Regions from separate parts of the Homo sapiens genome. Here regions 2 and 3 are each linked to region 1. The links are contacts of gene promoters, found by promoter capture Hi-C in human tissues and cell types (Jung and others, 2019). All regions are on one chromosome and are shown on one strand. The core of a region is centred on a gene start or on the middle of the fragment in contact, and the rest is flanking DNA. Distances in the headings are between cores, read along the strand shown. Region 1 holds the start of COL3A1 (collagen type III alpha 1 chain). Region 2 overlaps LOC105373790 (a long non-coding RNA gene). Region 3 has its middle 51 kb from the start of DIRC1.

Region 1 (4,520 bases), core at 1,165-3,664:
GATCCTAGTGCAAAACCTCCATATTCGAGGTAGTGAAGAATCGTAAATCAGAATATCTGGAGAATGAATTCTCTAGGTCTCTCCTGAAGACCTTAAAATACAACAATCCTTCCATATGCAAAACATCAGCTAATGTTTCTTAAGTGAGTGCATCAATCATGAATTTTTCTCATGAGTATAAGGCTTTTATTTGAATAGCTAAGCAAATTAAGAATTTTAGAACAATAGTAATTTTATTTATAATGCCTAAAATAAAGCATAACAAGCATTATTTTAAAAATAACATTTCTAATTTTTCACAGTGGAAAATAAATCTAATGAAGAAATTCAATAAATTTCAGCTTTTATAGACCACCTAAAACAATGAGAGAAATCTAATATAGATATATGAATTCTACGTAGATACAAAGACATCATGAGAAAAACTATGTTTCTGAATTGGTTTGAACACAGGAAATATTTTTTGTGTACAGGACAAAGATGTCTGAAAGACAGAAAGATGCATATAACAGCCTTTCCCCAGCATCTCTACTGTGATCCAGTAGAAAAGCTTATATTCATGACCATTCTCAACAGTTACTTTTCTCCCACGCCCCCAAGCAGTGACTCTCCAATCTAAAATAAAGATACACAAGAGGTTGGTCTCGTTCTAGTTTTCCTTTCCTGTCATCAAATGATGTCATCTACATTGAGATGTCTTGGTTTGTGTCCTTGTGACTGAAGATATAAGAAAGCTTGGGAGGCCGAGGCGGGCGGATCACGAGGTCAGGACATCAAGACCATCCTGACTAACACGGTGAAACCCCGTCTCTACTAAAAATACAAAAAATTAACCAGGCGTAGTGGCGGGCGCCTGTAGTCCCAGCTACTCGGGAGGCTGAGGCAGGAGAATGGCGTGAACCCGGGAGGCGGAGCTTGCCGTGAGCCGAGATTGCGCCACTGCAGTCTAGCCTGGGCGAGAGAGGGCGACCCCGTCGCAAAAAAAAAAAAAAAAAAGATGCAAGAAACAAGAAAGCAAGTTTGCCACTGTCCATGCTTACAGGATTCATGTACACCTGGGAATATACATATGACATGAGTTGAGTGAAAATTTAGTAACACAAATTAGAAGAAAGAGAAAGATGAAAATTAGTTTAAAGGAGGTAATTTACTTAAGGAGGAAAGTTTTGCATTGAGGCATAAGGAAGTGACTTCCATTAATTGGTGTGAAATGGGGAGAATTTTATGTGCACAGGCATAGAGACGGACATGTTTAGGTGAAGGTGAAGAAAATTAGTTCAAGTGACCTTGATTAGAATTGAAATGTCCACCGTAGATTATAGAGATAGATGAACTAACTATGAACTGATGATTAGGGTGTAAAGAGATATCTCCATTGCCAGATATAGCCTTATACTGTGGACAAGCATATTTTTCCTGCAGAGATTTATCAAAGACCTATAAATGGTATTTGCCCCTCTTTCAAATATGACACAAAAATTACTGCTTAGATAGATCCAGAAATACATTGGAAAGTTTTGTGGATGAGGATCTGGAAAGTATACACATAAAAGTCTAAATTAGAAATATTTATACTAATCTTTAGAGTAATGCAGAAAAAATGACCACTTTCTCTGGTACTCTTTTGCTATTCTATGTGATAAACTCTTTCTCTTCCAGTTTCCTAAAAAGTTATGTCATGAAAAGGCTGAATTTTTCTCTAGAAAAATCTGCTCTGTCTTTCCCAGGCAGCATAAAAATTGGAAATCTCACAAGAAAGCACTCTGGCTTGCTAAAGAAATTTGTGAGAAATGGAAACAGCTATAGATAAGTATCTAACTTTTAGGAAGCCATTCAAACATTGCTGAAATACTTTGTCTTTTGATATTTGCCTGAAACTTAACTTCTAGGACCCAGGGTGGGTGGATGAGTCGAAGGGGCATACGGTGGCATTTCTTTCCGTGAGTCTCTTACAGTCTCCTATTTAAATTGAGTTAGGATTACTTCTGGCAAAATCCCAACATAAAAATCTTCTAGGAAGATCAGTTCTGTAAATTAGACATACTAGATAAATGGGCATCAAGCAGTTTTTCAAAATTATGCAGTTGTTAACTTCATAAGGGGAAATAAAAATGTATGCATTTACATTGTATGTATTAAAACAAGGCAGAGCATTTCTATACGTTCCTAAGTTATACAAACATATATGTAAGAGTGAAATATGTAAAAAAACTTTTACATAAGCAGATGCATACAAACTCCAGATGTGCTCTTTTTCTTACTGTGGGTTGTGTCTTCTATAAGGGAAAAAGAAATATTTATCATTTCTTTTACTGCTGAGGGGATGGGTGCGGCTCTCATATTTCAGAAAGGGGCTGGAAAGTGAGGGAAGCCAAACTTTTTCCTATTTAAGGCCAAAGCAAAGGAATCTCAGTGGCTGAGTTTTATGACGGGCCCGGTGCTGAAGGGCAGGGAACAACTTGATGGTGCTACTTTGAACTGCTTTTCTTTTCTCCTTTTTGCACAAAGAGTCTCATGTCTGATATTTAGACATGATGAGCTTTGTGCAAAAGGGGAGCTGGCTACTTCTCGCTCTGCTTCATCCCACTATTATTTTGGCACAACAGGAAGGTGAGTAGGTACTGATTTCAAGAAACTTTATGGGATTTTTGTCTTTCTTCTCCTCACAAAGAGGGGTGTAAAGGGGAAAATCAGTTGCCTGATTCAAGATAATTTCCTCTATAAGCTCCAGATTGTGAAACGTTGAACTGACCATGGCTGTGCTTTTTACATTACTTGAAAAATAATCGCGTTATGTGTGTTTTTAAGAGTTCTGTGGTTAAGATAAGATGTTCTTGTACTAACTTGTTTTCATGTTAAAGGCACTGGAAACTTTTAAAAATGGCTTTAAAATTTTTCCCTCCTGGATTGTTAACATCTTGGAATACTTCCCCAGGCAGTCTGGAAGTTATTGGTCTCTTGCAATAATTTTATGTTCCTCTTTGTCTGCTGGATTCTTTGTAAGGTTAGAATATTGAGCATTGTTTTCTGAATAAGAATGCCTTTCAAATATCATGGATTAAGAACAGTCTAAAGGAAGATTCTACGCATTATCAGAATCATTGAATATATTTCTGTAAAATGGCTACAAGATACCTATAAACATTCTTCAAAGGGATCAAACTGCTAAAATATTTTATTATTCCTGTTTTTATTTTGTTTCAAGAATGATTGATTAATTCATCTTTTCTAGTAGCTTGATATTAAGGGACTAATATTTTCCACATATTCTACGTTTTAACCACATTCGCATTAATGAAGAAAATATTTTTTAAAATGTTTCAACAGGAGGTTTGACTTTGCTGCAAACAAGGTAAAGATACTAGTACTGTTTGACTTCAGAAAGCTGTTTTGCTATATTTTCTAATAATTGCATGTAATGTTTTTCATATTCTAATTTCCCCTAAAAACACATTTGTCTCATTATTTATGTGAAAATATTCTTTTATTTACCATAGTCATGAAAATGCTGAACAAATTGGAATACAAACTTCCATAGAAATAAATATTTAAGTGCTAAATGTAAAGATAGCTAGGAGAAATTATTAGACAATTTTTATTGCACATAACTAAACATGGTTACATTTAAACATATAGATTTTGCAAAGGACACTGCATGAAAATTTGGTTTTTGTTTGTAATATCAAATGTATTTGTTGTCCTCATAGCTAATACATGTAAATGTGTGTATGAGGGGAGGGGTAGATATACAATGAAATGTCTTCAGTTATATTCAGCCCATGGACACAAAAGAAAAGAAACACCCATTTTCCTTGTTCCCTTAATTTCCTCTCCTCCTTACCCCTCCTCTCCTTCGCTTTGCCCTCCTCCTTATCTCTCTCCACCCCTTTTGGCTCCTTTAGACTTCTCTTCACTCATCACCCCACCCCTTCCTAGGCAAGCCCATATCTACTCCTCTCTCCTCCTCTGTCTTCCCTGCCTGTTACTCCCTCCCTACTCCCCATGTGGCCTCCTTATGCCTCCATTTCTTTTTTTTAGTTCTCTCTCTCCTTGCCTCCTCACCCTTTCTTTCCCCTGAACTCTCAATCCTTCTTCCTTTCTCATTCCTCTCCCCTTTTCCTCCCTATCCTGCTCTTCCCAGGAGATGCTACAACTCACAGTCCTTTTTTAGGATACCAAATGACTACTATCCCCCACCAACCATTTATTGAAAAGACTACAAACTTAGGGGTTTTAGCTCAAAAAATTGCAACATATTTGTAGTTGCCTCGTGGTTGCAAGCTTTTTATAAGCACTGTGGCTATTTTTCTTCCCAATCCAACTTTAGTGGGGGGGTGTTTGCCACTTACAGTACCTTGACATCACATTAAGTTCTGTTTATTTCCCTCTTTCTCTTTAGATGCAAAAAATAATCAATAAGTATAAAATTTTGCTGATATGTGTTTGTGTGTTCTTAAGCTCAAAAAGAGTTGAAAGAGAACTGTTCAGCCTATTTTTTTTGTCATGAGTAAAAGTAAAGT
Region 2 (4,520 bases), core at 1,074-3,573, 250 kb before region 1:
ACAGCAAAACTAATTTGAGAGTTTATAGCTGCCTGTTTGCTCAATGCAAAAATTCAATTACATGTGTAGAATAATGAATCTTTGCTTAATAGTACATTTTACTGAACTCATTATTTTTTCTACTATGAATTTTGATATAAACATAAGTTTAAAAATTCTATTTTATTTAATTTAAAGCTTAAAGGTAAACTGATAATGACAGCCTGTAGCTGGAGCTCCAGCTGTGGAGGAAATTCTTGGCAGCTACCAACAGTGGCCTTCAATCTTCAGGATTAGACCCATAAGTAACTCCATCTTTGTCACTGACACTTGCTTATGGTGGACTAATCTGGTACCCAAAGGAAGCAGAAATGCCTGTGTCACCCGCCCCAGCAGACAGATGCCTCCCCTTGCTCTTTATTTTGTGATGATAACATACGTAGAAAATATAATATGATTTTTCTATTTCAAGAGCAAACATCTATATGGAAGAAAGCAAATCTTTTTAGAAATAAAACAATTAAAATACAATTATCTGTACCTACAAGACTTTCTTTGTGTTTGCAAGTTAATTGCCTTCATATCATATAAGCTTATGTTGCTTTAACTATCTTTACATTGAACTCCGTTATTAGAAATTTACCTGTATCATGTCGTACAACTGGTTTCTATAACAAAGACATGCAAATGGTGACCAGGTGTATGATTGGATGGTCAATATCACTAAATATCAGGGAAATGCAAATCAAATTCATAAATATCACCTCACACTTGTTAGGATGGGAAGAAGAAGAAGGAAAAGGAGAAGGAGAAGGAGAAAGAGAAGAAGGATATAACTTCTCTAGATACTGCCCTCTGACAATGCCTGCTTATCTAATTATGCTGTTAAAAAACTGCACACCAGGTGTAGCAGCTCACACCTGTAATCCCAGCACTTTGGGAGGCCAAAGAATAAGAAGAGGCAGCAGCATCAGAAGAAGAAGAAAAAGAAGAAGGAGAAATAACATGTGTTGGCAATTCTGTGGAGAAATGGAACCTCTTCTACACTGTTGTTAGGACTGTAAATGTGCAGCCACTATGGAAAACAGTAAGGAGGTTCCTCAAAAAATTAAAAATGGAACTACTATATGATCCAGCAATCTTACTCTTGAATATATAGCCCAAAGAATTGAAATCATAAGCTTGCAGAGACATCATCACTCCCATGTTTATTGCAACACTATTCACAGCAGCCAAATTATGGACACAACCCAAATATCCATCAGCAGATGAATGGACAGAGAGAATATGGTATATACATACAGTGGAATATTACTCAACTCTAAAAAGAAAAAAATCCTTCCATTTGCAACAATGTGGATGAATTTAAAGGACATTATGGTAAGTGAAAAAGGCCAGGCCCATAAGGACAAATACTGCGTGATTCCACCTATATGAGGCACCTAGAATAGTCAAACTGAAGAACAATAGTTACTATGGGGTGGGGGAAGGAAAAATGGAAATTGAGGAGTTGTTCGATTCATATAAAGTTTCAGTTGTGCAAGATAAATTAGTTCCAGAGTTCTGCTGTACTGCATAATGCTTATAGGCAACAATGCTGTATGGTACACTTAAAAATATGTTGAGAGTAGATCTCATGTTAAGTGTTCTTATTACAAACAAACAGAAATCAATGGAACACAAAACCTTTTTGTGGTGATGAATATGTCTATTATCTTGATCCTGGTGATGATTTCATGGGTGTATACATATGCCCAAACTCATCAAATTGTACACATTAAATAAGTGTAATTTTGTATATAAATTATACTTCAATAAAGCTACTAAAAATAAAGATAGTAAATCACTCCCACTTTGAGTTAGTCTCTCAAACCATTGAAATTGGAATCATTAGCATACATTTAAAGTTACAGTTTAGATAGACTCAAAACGAAGGTGTCATTGCAGTGATCTCTTTTAATATGTGCTAGATATATACCTCCATTTAACCAAAAAAAGCACTGGATTTCTCTATTTACTAGGTGCTTTTGACACATAAAATGATCCTTTTTGTGTCTTTTGCTTCTGCTAAATTGCTCATTATTTTCAAATACATTTGCCATATCACCTACTTTCTTTGTGCTTAACATACACGCAAATTAGAAACTTATATTCTGGGTTGCTGGCAGGTCTATCTATAGTCCTGAAGTCTTCCACTGGAGGAGAAAATTGGAAGAAATAAGGTAAAATTGCACAACCTGGATACCAAAAAAGTGTAATCTGTATTCAACTTTTCTTTGCATTAACTTCTCAACAACCATGAACAATGAACAGATCTTAACATACTAGTGTAAAAAGATGCGATTTTTAATGACATCCTTATTAGTGTTGTCTATGTAACATTTCTGAAAATGTTTCCATGTGTTTTGAAATTCCTTTAAAATAAATATTCTGGAATAATATGAAGAGAAATAAAGATACTTTTGGGAGTGGGAGGGATGCTTTGGAAATCATCACATTCCAAATTCCCACTATCTTTTAAAGTATGACCTACATCATCTGGGGATAAAATAATATAAAGAAGCGAAAGTCTGTGAGATCACTTAAGTCTTCCTTCAAGTATCTGGAGAAGGCATCATGATCTTGCCTTACACAGCATACTCACAGTGAATAAATAAATAAGGGTGCATACCCAATATCTTATATTTTAACATTTTTTTTTCTTGGTTTCAACCTATTTAAAATACATACATTAAAATGACAAATTAACCACTTAAAAAGTTTTTGTAACTTATCTTTCAGTAGGATGCCCAAAATGTATGACTCATGAGAAAGGAATCTATCGCATGAAAACATTCAGGGAGTAGACATACTTACTAGAGTTTTGCTTAAGTATCAAGTCAGTTGTAATCACTTCGTAATCTAAAAATTATTTAGGGAATGCTCAACAGGTGAAATTTTAGTTTTGAGAAGACTTTGTGACAATTTTCTTGTAATTATAATTTTAAAAAATACTATCTGAACATTTAATATCTGTTAATTATCAAAATATATTTTAAAGTATATTTTAAAAGATCTCACTGGACTATTAGAAATGAGTTAAAATATAGACAAATTTAAAAATAAAGCAAAGTGAGGCATTTAAATGATCATTTCCTATTTTTAATTTTCTGAGAAGTTAGGTAAACCTACTTTCTGTCTCACCCCCTCCCCACAATAAAATAAATTATGTCATATTAAATAGCGAGAAGAACTAAAACATCAAATGTCAATGCAAGAGAATACATTTCTGGGCTGACAGAAACAGAATCAAGAAGAATGGTGGCCACATAGCATGGAATCAATTTATATCTGGCAATAACACTAAAAGAATAGAATTTCTTTTGTGAGATATTTTTTACATTGGGTCCAGCAATTTATGCATCATTAGTAACATCTGTGACCACAAAAAGATCAGTTAAAGCAAGGAAGGACAAAGAGAGAGAGAGAGAGAGAGGTAAGAGAGAATAGAGAAAAAAGTTTTGATTAATTCAGTTTCTTAACTGCACCTCTAGTTTTTTTGTGTTGTTTTCTAGTAACACGAAGTCATAAAGGAATCTAGAGTAGGCTAGATATGTGCAAATGTTTCCACTACATATCCACATGAGTGTACTAAATACAATCATATTTACGCCCCCTTCAGTGAGGTAGAGAAAGATAGCACTTCTTTGGATGATTTGTTCGGTTACAGGACAAGCTTGAACATGATCACTTAGTGCCTCACTCCTGTTTGTCAGGCTTTATATAAGAGCTACTTATGCTAAGGAACTATATCATGTTCATCAGATATAAATTATGTTTGTATTGCAACATTTCTATTAAAATAGATAATATTTTCAATGTTTATGTTGTTTATATTAGGCAAATCATTGTAGTTCTTCATAAGCAATAAATGGAATGGATTATCCTGCAAGTTAAAGAGTTTTGTCTTTTCTCTTGGGCCAACTTAAATGTTAATTGGCTGTCCACACCATGAGCTTTGGTTTTGGTAGTGTCATGTTGTGGACAAAGAATTTCAGTCTGAGTCCCACCTGACTGACAAAAGCATTTTGGCTCATTCTGAATGCCTGGATGTTTTCTTTCAAAATATTATTTCAACTGTAACCTTTCAAGGTACCAGCACTAATGCTTAAAGGAAGCATAACATTCTCCAAGGATTTCACAGAAAGAGTAACACAAAGTGTGTTCAATTAAATTTATTTACCATGATTTTAATTCCTAGTATGTGCCTACTATGTACATGAAAGTGTTTAATGCAGATTTTTTTTAAAAGTAAAATTATAATTTAAAAAAGCCCAAATACAAGATAAATTTCAAACTTTGGTAAAATAAATGTCTTCACATTTCACAGCCTTCATGTCATCATATAAAATCTGCCCCTAAAATTGATATCTGAATATTGAGGTGGTTAGTCCTTTGCTCTGAGGTATGTGAAGCAGTTCAGAAACAGAGTAGCTAACATAGTTTATTGCAGGGTAAAGATTCAGTATCTTCAGCAGCCAAAAATATTTCTAAGATTACTT
Region 3 (4,520 bases), core at 944-3,443, 130 kb before region 1:
AAAAGATGTAAATTGTGACATCAAATCATACATTGTGGAAGGGTAGGGTAAAAGCCTAGAGATTTTGTATGTGACAGATGTTAAGTTGCTATCAGCTTAAAATAGTAGATTATAATCATGAGGCATTATAGAAGTTTCATGCTAATCACAAAACAACAACAAAAACCTACAAAAGCTAGTAATAAAGAGGAGGGAATAAGAGGTTAGCACTACAGAAAATTATCACATCACAAACATAACATACACAACAAGTGAGAAAGAAAGGAAAAAGGATCTACAAAACAACTGGAAAACCAATAATAAAATGGCAGTAGTAAGTCCTCACCTATCAAAGGTAACCTTGAGTTGAAATGAATTAAATTCCCCAATCAAAAGACAGAATGGTTGAGTGAATTAAAAAAAAAAAAAATCTAACGATATGCTGTCTACAAGAGACCAACTTAAGCTTTAAAGGTACACATGAGCTGAATGGAAAAGGATGAAAGAAGATATTCCATGTAAATGGTAACTGAAAGAGAACAGGGGTGACTATACTTATATCTGATAAAAAGACTTCAAGTCAAAAATTGCAAGAGACAAATGGTCATTATTTAATGATAAAGGGGTCAATTTGTCAATAGGAAATAACCATTATAAATATCTATGCACCCAGCAGAGAAGCACCTAAATACATAAAACAAATATTAATGGAAGGGAGAAATAGAAATAAAATATTAGTATTGGGTTTCAGTACCCCACTTTTAAAAATAAATAAATCAACAAGACAAAAAAAATAAGAAAATTCTAATTTTGAATTGCCCGTTTGACCAAATGGACCTAACAGAATGTCCTAGTCCATTTTTTTGCTCCTATAACTGAATACCTGAGACTGGGTAACTTAGAAAGAACAGAGATCTATTTCTTACAGTTCTAGAGGCTGGAAAGTACAAGGCTGATGGGCGTGCATCTGATGAGAGGCTTCTTGCTACATCATTCCATGGCAGAAGGCAGAAGGCAAGAGAACATGTGCATACATTAGAGAGGAAAGGGGCTGAACTCATTCTTTCATCAGGAGCCCAATCCCACAATAAGACTCTGACTCCTCTGATTACAACTTAACCCATTCATGAGGGGAAAGCCTTTGTGACTTAATCATCACTTAAAGGTCCCACCTCTCAACACTGTTACATTGGGAATTAGATTTCCAACACAAAATCTTAAAAACTTTGGCAGAACATATTTAATCCATAGCACAGACATACACATAACTTTTCACCCAACAGCAGCAGAATGCACATTTTTCTCTAGCACATGTGAAATATTCTCCAGTATAGACCATATGTTAGACCATGAATATTTAAGAAGATTAAAATAATGTCTAGTATCATTTCAGAACACAATAGTATAAAACTGGAAATCAATATCAGTAGGAATCTTAGAAAATTACAAATATTTGAAAATTAAACAACATGCTCCTAAACAACCAATGGCTCAAAGAGGAAATTGAGCCAAATGTCATGAGACAAATGGCAATGGAAACACAACATTCCAAAACCCATCATGTGCTTCAAAAACAGACCTAAAAAGAAAGTTTATAACAACAGGCTGAGCGCAGTGGCTCATGCCTATAATCCCAGCACTTTGGGAGGCTGAGGAGAGTGGATAATCTAAGATCAGAAGTTCAAGATCAGCCTGATCAACATGGGGAAATGCCATCTGTACTAAAAATACAAAAAATTAGCCGGGCATCATGGTGGGTGCCAGTAATCCCAGCTACTTAGGAGGCTAAGGCACAAGAATTGCTTGAACCTTGGAGGCAGAGTTTGAAGTGAGCTGAGATCTCGCCACTGCACTCCAGCTTGGGCAACAGAGTGAGACTCCATCTCAAAAAAAAAAAAAAAAAAAGAAAAGAAAGAAAGTTTATAACAACAAATGCCTACATTAAAAATGTAGAGGAAGGTGGTAGGCAAAATGGCCAAATAGGAACAGCTCTGGTCTGCAGCTCCCAGCGAGATTAAGGCAGAAGGGGGTAATTTCTGCATTTCCAACTGAGGTACCTGGCTCATCTCACTGGGAATGGTTAGACAGTTGGGTGTAGCCCACAGAGGGTGAGCTGAAGTAGGATGGGGTGTCACCTCACCTGGGAAGCGCAAGAGGTCGGGGAACTCCATCATCTAGCCAAGGGAAGCCTTGAGGGACTGTGCCATGTGAAATGGTGCATTCCAGCCCAGATACTATACTTTTCCCATGGTCTTTGCTACCCACAGGCCTGGAGATTGCCTCAGGTGCTTACACCACCAGGGCCCTGGATTTCAAGCACAAAAGTTGGCAGCCATTTGGGCAGACACCGAGCTAGCAGCAGGAGTTTTTTTTCATACCACAATGATGCCTGGAACATTAGTGAGACAGAACCGTTCACTCCCCTAGAAAGGGAGCTGAAGCCAGGGAGCCAAGTGGCCTAGCTCAGCAGATCCCACTCCCATGGAGCCCAGCAAGCTAAGATCCACTGGTTTGAAATTCTCACTGCCAGTACAGCAGTCTGAAGTCAACCTGGGACACTCAAGCTTGGTGGTGGGAGGGGCATTTACCATTACTGAGGCTTAAGTAAGCTGTTTTCCCCTCACAGTGTAAACAAACCCACCAGGAAGTTTGAATTGGGCGGAGCCCACTGCAGCTCAGCAAAGCTGCTATAGCCAGACTGCCTCTCTAAATTCCTCCTCTCTGGGCAGGGCATCTCTGAAAGAAAAGCAGCAGACCCAGTCAGGGGCTTATAGATAAAATTCCCATCTTCCTGAGACAGAGCACCTGGGGGAAGGGATGGGATGGCTGTGGGCACAGCTTCAGCAGACTTAAACGTTCCTGCCTGCCAGCTCTGAAGAGAGCAGCAGATCTCCCAAAGCAGTGCTCAAGCTCTGCAAAGGGACAGACTCCCTCCTCAAGTGGGTCCCTTAACCCTGGGCCACCTGACTGGGAGACATCTCCCAGCAGGGGTCGACAGACACCTCATACAGGAGAGCTCCGGCTGGCATCTTGTGGGTGCCCCACTGGGATGAAGCTTCCAGAGGAAGGAACAGGTAAAATTCTTTCCTGTTCTGCAGCCTCCACTGGTGATACCCAGGCAAACACCGTCTGGAGTGGACTCGCAGCAAACTCCAGCAGAACTGCAGCAGAGGGGCCTGACTGTTAGAAGGGAAACTAACAAACAGAAAGGAATCACATCAACATCAACAAAAAGGACGTCCACTCAAAAACCTCATCTGAAGGTCACCAACATCAAAGACCAAAGGTAGATAAATCCATCAAGATGAGGAAAAAACAGCATAAAAAGGCTGAAAATTCTAAAAATGGAAATGCCTCTTCTCCAAAGGATCACGACTCCTTGCCAGCAAGGGAACAAAACTGGATGGAGAATGAGCTTGACAAATTGACAGAAGTAGGATTATAAATTATTCTATTATAAAGACATGTGCACATGTATATTTATTGCAGCACTATTCAAAATAGCAAAGAGTTAGAACTAATCCAAATGCCCATCAATGATAGACTGGATAAAGAAAATGTGGCACATATACACCATGGAATACTGTGCAGCCATAAAAAAGGATGCATTCATGTCCTTTGCAGGGACATGGATGAAGCTGGAAACCATCATTCGCAGCACACTAACACAGGAATAGAAAACTAAACACCACATTATCACTTGTAAGTAGGAGTTGAACAGTGAGAACACATGGACACAAGGAAGGGAACATCACATACTGGGGCCTGTTGGGGGGTAGAGGTCTAGGGGAGGGATAGCATTAGGAGAAATGCCTAATGCAGATGATGGTTTAATGGGTGCAGCAAACCATTATGGCACATGTATACCTATGTAACACCTGCATGTTCTGCACATGTATCCCAGAACTTAAAGTATAATTTAAAAAAGAAAAAAAAACAGAAGTGAATATTGACAAATATCCATTTTTGTCATAGAAAAAAGTTATATAATAACTTCAACATGTGTTTCTCCACTAATAATTAGGGTGTGTCTTCACATTTACAAGAGTCATTTGTAGTTCCTTATCTGTGACCTATCTATTCATATTCTTTGCTCATTTTTCTAAATAGCTGTTGTTCTTTTTCTCATTGATTTGGAAAAGCTCTATATGTATTAAGAAAATTATCAGCCAGGCACAGTGGCTCACATCTGTAATTCCAGCACTTTGGAGGCCGAGTTGGGGGGATCACTTGAGGTCAGGAGTTTGAGACCAGCCTGGCCAACATGAAGAAACCCTGTCTCTACTAAAAATACAAAAATTAGCTGGTCGTGGTGGTACGTGTCTGTAATCCCAGCTACTCAGGAGGCTGGGTCAGAGGAATCACTTGAACCAGGAGGCAAAGACTGCAGTGAGCCGAGATTGTGCCACTATACTCTAGCCTGGGTGACAGAGCAAGACTCTGTCTCAAAAAAAAAAAAAAAAAGGAAAAAAGAAAATTATCCCTTTGCTTATGATTTGAGTTGAAACTATGTTTTCTCTATTTAGCAGACCAATTTAGAG

What was found. The method cuts DNA at HindIII sites, captures the fragments that hold promoters and counts their contacts. A contact is called where the count stands out against the background at its distance.
Region 2: a fragment that was not itself captured here is called in contact with the fragment with the promoter of COL3A1 in region 1 in 4 of the 25 tissues and cell types used here (H1 embryonic stem cells, IMR-90 fibroblasts, bladder and 1 more).
Region 3: a contact is called between a fragment that was not itself captured here and the fragment with the promoter of COL3A1 in region 1, in 4 of the 25 tissues and cell types used here (IMR-90 fibroblasts, bladder, mesenchymal stem cells and 1 more).

Annotation. Positions count from the first base shown.
Region 1 is chr2:188,971,959-188,976,478 of GRCh38, forward strand. It overlaps COL3A1 (collagen type III alpha 1 chain), which reads left to right and starts at 2,415. Exons shown (of 51, transcript NM_000090.4): 1 at 2,415-2,610. The coding sequence starts at 2,532. The region is part of intron 1 of LOC105373791 (a long non-coding RNA gene); the gene reads right to left. The HindIII fragment of the contact is 6,513 bases long and covers 1-4,435 here.
Region 2 is chr2:188,723,395-188,727,914 of GRCh38, forward strand. The region is part of intron 2 of LOC105373790 (a long non-coding RNA gene); the gene reads left to right. Among named protein-coding and RNA genes, the nearest start is that of DIRC1, 64 kb to the right of the region's middle. The HindIII fragment of the contact is 3,898 bases long and covers 375-4,272 here.
Region 3 is chr2:188,838,381-188,842,900 of GRCh38, forward strand. No RefSeq gene overlaps it. Among named protein-coding and RNA genes, the nearest start is that of DIRC1, 51 kb to the left of the region's middle. The HindIII fragment of the contact is 4,294 bases long and covers 47-4,340 here.